Regions from separate parts of the Homo sapiens genome. Here region 2 is linked to region 1. The links are contacts of gene promoters, found by promoter capture Hi-C in human tissues and cell types (Jung and others, 2019). All regions are on one chromosome and are shown on one strand. The core of a region is centred on a gene start or on the middle of the fragment in contact, and the rest is flanking DNA. Distances in the headings are between cores, read along the strand shown.

Region 1 (3,118 bases), core at 456-2,955:
GGACTACAGGCACCTACCACCACGCCTGGCTAATTTTTGTGTTTTTTTAGAGACAGGGTTTCGCCACATTGCCCAGGCTAGTTTTGAACTCTTGAGCTCAAGTGATCTGCTTGCCTCGGCCTCCCAAAATGCTGGGATTATAGGTGTGAGCCACCGTGCCCTGCTGAGGAGAGTCTTAGTTTGGGATCCATGGATTCCTTTGAGGCCTATTCATGGGCTTCAAAGGATTAATCAGTCCTTGAAATCATACGCAAAATTTGTGTGTAGGTAGATAGCTTTTATCAGATTTCCAATGTGGTTTTTAATCCCCTCTTCCAAAGAAAAAACAATCACTGTAATATCTAGTTTCTAGTTTCAAGGAGTGAACTATCAAAGTATAAAACAGTAGAGACATCCAGCAGGATACTGACTGTTTGTGTCCATTTAATATGACAATTAGAAGGTCACTTCTTGGAAGAGTCATTTGGCTTTGCTCCCTCAATTTCCTTTCCACTTCACCTCACTTCAGTCTGGTTTTGGAATGCTAACACTCACTCTACCCAAACTGCTCTTGTTGTGGAGTCTGTGGTATCCACCAATGGGTTCTTTCTGCCTGCTGCACAAACAAAATTAATTGACAGAAACCATGGCATTGCAGTAAAGAAAGTTTAATTGACGCGAGGCTGGCCATGCCACGTGGGAGACAGAGTTGTTACTCAAATCCATCTCACCAAAGGCTCAGAGGTTAGGGGGTTTTTCAGATAGTTTGACAGGTACGGGGCCAGGGAATGGGGAGTGCTGACTGGTTGGGTCAGAGGTGAAATCATAAGAAGTAGAAGCTGTCCTCTTGCACTGAGTTGGTTCGTGGATCCCCAGGTTGATGAGTCAGGGTGGGGCCATCCACTTGTCAGAAATGCAAAAACCTGAAAAGACATCTCAAAAGGCCAATCTTAGGTTCTACAACAGTGATGTTATCTGCAGGAATGATTGGGGAAGATGCGAATTTGTGACCTGTGGAATAATGGGTGGTAATCATTTAACTACAATTACAACTTAGAAGAATTCAGGACCCTCTCATTCTCCTAACTTGGTGGCCTTTCATTTAGTTTTAAAAGGGCAGTTTTGGGGAAGGGTTATTATCATTTAAACTATAAACTAAATTTCTCCCAAAGTTAGTTTGTCCTGTGCCCAGGAATGAGCAAAGACAGCCAGTCTGTGAGGCTAGAATCAAGATAGGAGTAAACCATGTCAGATTTCTCTTACTGTCAAAATTTTGCAAAGGCGGTTTCAACAGAAATTAACATGTCTAGGATAGTTGCTTTTTCTATTATTTTTTCTATCACTGCATTTACTTTCATTCTGCCTTATGCTTTAACTAGGTAATTTTTTTTTTTTTTTTAGTTTTGGCGGTATCAACACTATATTCTTCTCTTTGACCACCGCATGCTGCCTACGTGGTAGACTCTCAATACGCATGGAACTGAACCTCTTACAGGATTTGTAACTCACTTCTGTGGTATCTAGTAAACTGGAACACGCGCTTTCCCTGGGCTGCTCTGTCATCCCAGGTTTCAGCACTCGGAAATCGCTTGGGCCCCCGCCCAGAGGCGGGGCTTGGGTGGGCTGACCACTCCTCTGGCCTCCAATACTGTCGCTGACATTCTCGTCTATGCTCCAGCAGCCGTACCTCACTCCGGTGGAGGCGGGACTTCCTACAGCACTTCCGGCCAGAGCCTCAAGCTTCGCTGCTGGGCAGTTGGCTGGAGGGGCTGCTGCTGGGAACACCTGGAGTCTCCGCGGGCAGGTGAGCTTCAGAGGTTCGGGGAGCTTTCGGAACGAGCATTCCTGGCCGGTGCGTCACCCTGCAGTGCTCTTGGCCTTTTCTTCCTTTCCTGGAATCTTCCCAGATTGCCAGAGCCGGGCGTTGCCTGCTCCGTGCGCTGGGAGGCGGTCCAGCCGGCTGGGTTGGGGCCACCCTGCGCCTCCTGGAAGGCCTTATTTAGGAGTAGCCGCACGTGATCTCTAGCATTTTAAGCTTCTCTCAGAGAATTGGCATGTCACTTTGGAAGAGGTGAAAATGGTACAGGCGACCAACGACTTTTACAAGGTGTCACCTTAGAGGAACAGCCTCGTCCTTCCGAATCAGTTAACATTGGTGATGACAGAGAAATAACGTTAAATAGGTGGAGAGCACTTAAAGTAACTGTTTGTTCTTTTGAGACAGTCTTGCTCTGTCGCCCAGGCTGGACTGCAGTGGCGCGGATCTCTGATCTCGGCTTACTGCAACCTCCGCCTCCTGGGTTCAAGCGATTCTGCTGCCTCAGCCTCCCGAGTAGCTGGGATTACAGGCGCGTGCCACCACGCTCGGCTAATTTTTGTATTTTTAGTAGAGACAGGGTTTCTCCATGTTGGCCAGGCTGCTCTCGAACTCCTGATCTCAGATGATCCACCCGCCTCGGCCTCCCAAACTGCTGGGATTACAGGCGTGAGCCACCGCGCCCGGCCTAAAGTAACTATTTTTACTTGGTGTTTACTACCAAATGGGGACTGTTCTAAGTTGTGGGTGGATCCAAATGATGGTGTGACAGCCTTATCCTCAGAGAAGCAGTCCTGGCAGGAAGACGGGGTTAACAAATTGCCAAACTGTTAGAGAAAGTTAGTGGAGGTAGAGATGAAGAGAGAAGACTTTTCTTTTCTCTGGCATTAATTTAGCCACGGCCGCTGTGTTTTGATACTTGCTTCAAACGTTTTTCATATTCTTAAGTTTTAACTTTTCTGTATGCTCATATTTTATATACTGTTGTAAACAGCATATCTCTGGGTTTTTTTTTTAATCTAAGTGGACAGCCTGCTTTTTTTTTTTTTTTTTTTTTTTGATATGGAGTCTTGCTCTGTCGCCCAAGGCTGGTGTGCAGTGGCCCAATCTCAGCTCACTGCAACCACGCCTCCCAGGTTCAAGCATATCTCCCACCTCAGCCTCCCGAGTAGTTGGGATGACAGGTGTGTGCCACCATGCCCAGCTAATTTTTTTTTTTTTGTATTTGTAGTAGAGATGGGGTTTCGCCATGTTGGCCAGACTGGTTTTGAAGGCCTGACTTCAGGTGATCCACCTGCTTCAGCCTCCCAAAGTGCTGGGGCT
Region 2 (3,267 bases), core at 512-3,011, 79 kb before region 1:
CACTCAGGAGGCTGAGGGAGGAGAATTGCTTGAACCCAAGAGGCGGAGGCTGGAGTGAGCCAAGATCGTGCCACTGCACTCCAGCCTGGACGACAGAGTAAGACTCTGTCTCAGAAAAAATAAATTTTTTTTTTTTACCTTTTTTCTCCTCACTGCTGACTTCTATTTCAGAAGAGCAGATCTGATCCCAGACTACTAAACAAAGAAAAGAGAACTAGAGAGACACCCAAACTGCAGGGGAGGTTGTAGTAACAAAGCAGAAGACAAAAGGAAATTCCAGGTGAGGCTACAGGGCAAGAACAGTCTCATTGTGTGTTCTGTCTTGAATGTACCAGAAACTACCAGTGTTCATGATGGTATATGAGAAAGAATCTACTTATTTTTATTTTTCTACTTGCCCTAAAGTAATAAACATGCATCACATCAAGCAAATTAATGCCTAATTATCAGCAAATTAGTAAACTATTTCTGTTGACACCTTTATTCTCTACCCAGTAATTCAACCGGCAGCTACTATTTTCACTAAGTACTGTTAAATAAGCTTGACAAAATGAGATACTCTTACATGAATTCCTGGTCCTAAAGAATTTAGTCCTTTCTTCAGCATACAAATTAATGCATGAATTCATTTGCTTTATAAAACTATAAAAATACAGAAGTATACAAAAAGCAAATGTCTCCTTTTATCTTCTCTGTTCCCACATCCCTCGGGGACATAACTACTGTCTCCTTATTTAGGGTATTTTTCCAGTCTTACTCTGCCTTTACAGGGACCTATGTACAAAACAATGTATTTTTTCCAAATAAATTTTAAATTGGCCTTTAGTTGTACAGTCTATGAGCATATTATCCTTGTAAAAATAATAAAACATTAATGTGGCTGGGCGCAGTGGCTCATGCCTGTAATCCCAGCACTTTGGGAGGCCAAGGCGGGTGGATCACCTGAAGTCAGGAATTTCTCAAGACCAGGCTGGCCAACATGGCGAAACCCCTTCTCTATTAAAGAAATATAAAAATTAGCCAGGCGTGGTGGTGGGCACCTGTAGTCACAGCTACTCAGGAGGCTGAGGCAGAACTGCTTGAACTCAGGAGACGGAGATTGCAGTAAGCTGAGATTGCACCACTGCACTCCAGCCTGAAAAACAGAGTGAGACTCCATTTCAAAAAAAAAAAAGTAAGTCCTAAATTACTACACTCAATTCCCATTAATAATCACTATTCTCATTTTGGCATATGTTCTTCCAGGTTTTTTCCAGACCTTCACTTACATACACGTACATGTATCCATATTTAATAACATTTCTGTGAATCTATTTTTACATAACTGGTACTACATTTAATATACTGTCTTTCAACTTTTCTTTCATTCAAAAAATGTTTTAGAGATCTTTCTACATCAGTAAACACAAACTGTCGAATTAATTTTGTGCTATAACCATTGTAGGAATTTGCCATGGTTATTTAGCTTGTCCTCTACTGGTGATATTAAGTGGTTTTCTGTTTTTCCCTATTAAAGAGGGCAGCCACAAACATATTCATGCCAGCTTCCTTGTGCACCTGTACATGGGCTGCTTCTGGGTAGGTATCAAAAGGGAGCACAAAGAACATGAACATTTTTTATTTTAAGACATAACCCAAATTCTCCCAAGGAATTTCTGAAGTATAATTCTGGTGCCTTAAAGGCCAACACATAATGAAAAAAGAAGACTCTTAGTTACAGTTAAGTGTTCTATTTTCAACCAAAACTTTTCTAATCCTAGAGGAGTTTAACAATCTGGCATCTTGAACAGAAATCACCATTAATTTCTGCACCAGTTATTAGCAATGCAATATCTTAACAGTCTTGAAAGATCCATTTATTCAACAATAATTACCAAAATTAAAAACACACAACCCTGGCCCCAGGAATAAATGGCCAAATTCATCCAATAGCTATACTTGCACATGTGTGAGATAACATATATTCAAAGTTATTCATCACAGATGCAAGTCAGTAGGTCTGGCCAAAAGTCCAGCTAAATTCAAAGTGACATAATAAATTATGATCCTGGAAGGGAATTCAATGTATGACTTACTTCAAACAGTAAATTAACTCAAAGTTTGGGAGCTATAAAATATTGATAAATTTAACCATTAAAAAATTGCTCAATGGCAAAAAAATACACAAAGCAAATATATCAAAATATAAATGACAAACTCTACAAAAAGTTATTTATAATTCACATCACTAAAGAGCTTGACTCTCATACATAAAGAACATCTAAAATCAGTAATTTTTTTTAGAGACCAACCATTCAGGCCAGGCAAAGTGGTTCACTCCTATAGTCCCAACACTGGGAGGCCGAGGTAGGTGAGGTGCTTGAGCCCAGGAGTTCGAGACCAGCCTGGACAACATAGTGAGGCCTTATCTCTATTAAAAAATTTAAAAATTAGCCAGCATGGTAGCATGTGCCTGTAGCCCCAGGTACTCAGGAGGTTGAGGTGGGAGGATCACTTGAGCCTGGGAGGTTCAAGGCTGCAGTAAGCCGTTATTGGACCACTGCACTCCAGCCTGGGGGACAGGAAGGAGATTCTGCCTCAAAAAAAAAAAAAAAAGCCAACCATTCAACAGAAAAATGGGCATATGACATAAAAGGATATTTCATATAAAAAGAATTACAATGGACTCAACACTTGAAAAGATGCTCATACTCATTCATAAATTCGATGTAAAACCTACTAAATAAAAACAATTCAAAACACAATTTTTCGCACGCATCCATAGTTTCAACTACTTGGGAGGCTGAGGCAGAAGAACTGCTTGAACCTGGGAGACAGAGGTTGCAGTGTGCCCCTATCATGCCACTACACTCCCTCCAGCCTGGACGATATAGTGAGACTCTATCTCTAAAAAAAAAAAACCCACACCATTTTTCACTATCAGATTGGCAAAAATTCAGAAATTCAGAAGTCTAGTAATGTACACGGCAGGTAAGTTATGGGAAAATGTTAGCCTTCATATTGCTGCTGAGAATGTAAATCTGTATAACCTGAACGGGAAACGATTATAGAAATAAAAAATGCAGGCCGGGCAGATCACTTGAGGTCAGGAGTTCAAGACCAACTTGGCCAACATGGTGACACCTGTCTCCACTAAAAATACAAAACTTAGCGGGGCATGGTGGTGCATGCCTGTAATCCCAGCTACTCCAGAGGCTGAGGCAGGAGAACTGCTTGAACCAGGGAGGCAGAGGTTGCAGTGAGCCAAGATGACGCCAACCTGGACGA

What was found. The method cuts DNA at HindIII sites, captures the fragments that hold promoters and counts their contacts. A contact is called where the count stands out against the background at its distance.
Region 2: a fragment that was not itself captured here is called in contact with the fragment with the promoter of TBCE in region 1 in 3 of the 25 tissues and cell types used here (adrenal gland, mesenchymal stem cells and pancreas).

Annotation. Positions count from the first base shown.
Region 1 is chr1:235,365,722-235,368,839 of GRCh38, forward strand. It overlaps TBCE (tubulin folding cofactor E), which reads left to right and starts at 1,706. Exons shown (of 17, transcript NM_003193.5): 1 at 1,706-1,783. It overlaps LOC124904559 (a long non-coding RNA gene), which reads right to left and starts at 1,699. Exons shown (of 2, transcript XR_007066957.1): 1 at 1,489-1,699; 2 at 632-902. RefSeq lists enhancers at 1,413-2,126, 1,666-2,005. The HindIII fragment of the contact is 12,392 bases long and covers 1-3,118 here.
Region 2 is chr1:235,287,147-235,290,413 of GRCh38, forward strand. The region is part of intron 2 of ARID4B (AT-rich interaction domain 4B); the gene reads right to left. Among named protein-coding and RNA genes, the nearest start is that of ARID4B, 39 kb to the right of the region's middle. The HindIII fragment of the contact is 9,052 bases long and covers 1-3,267 here.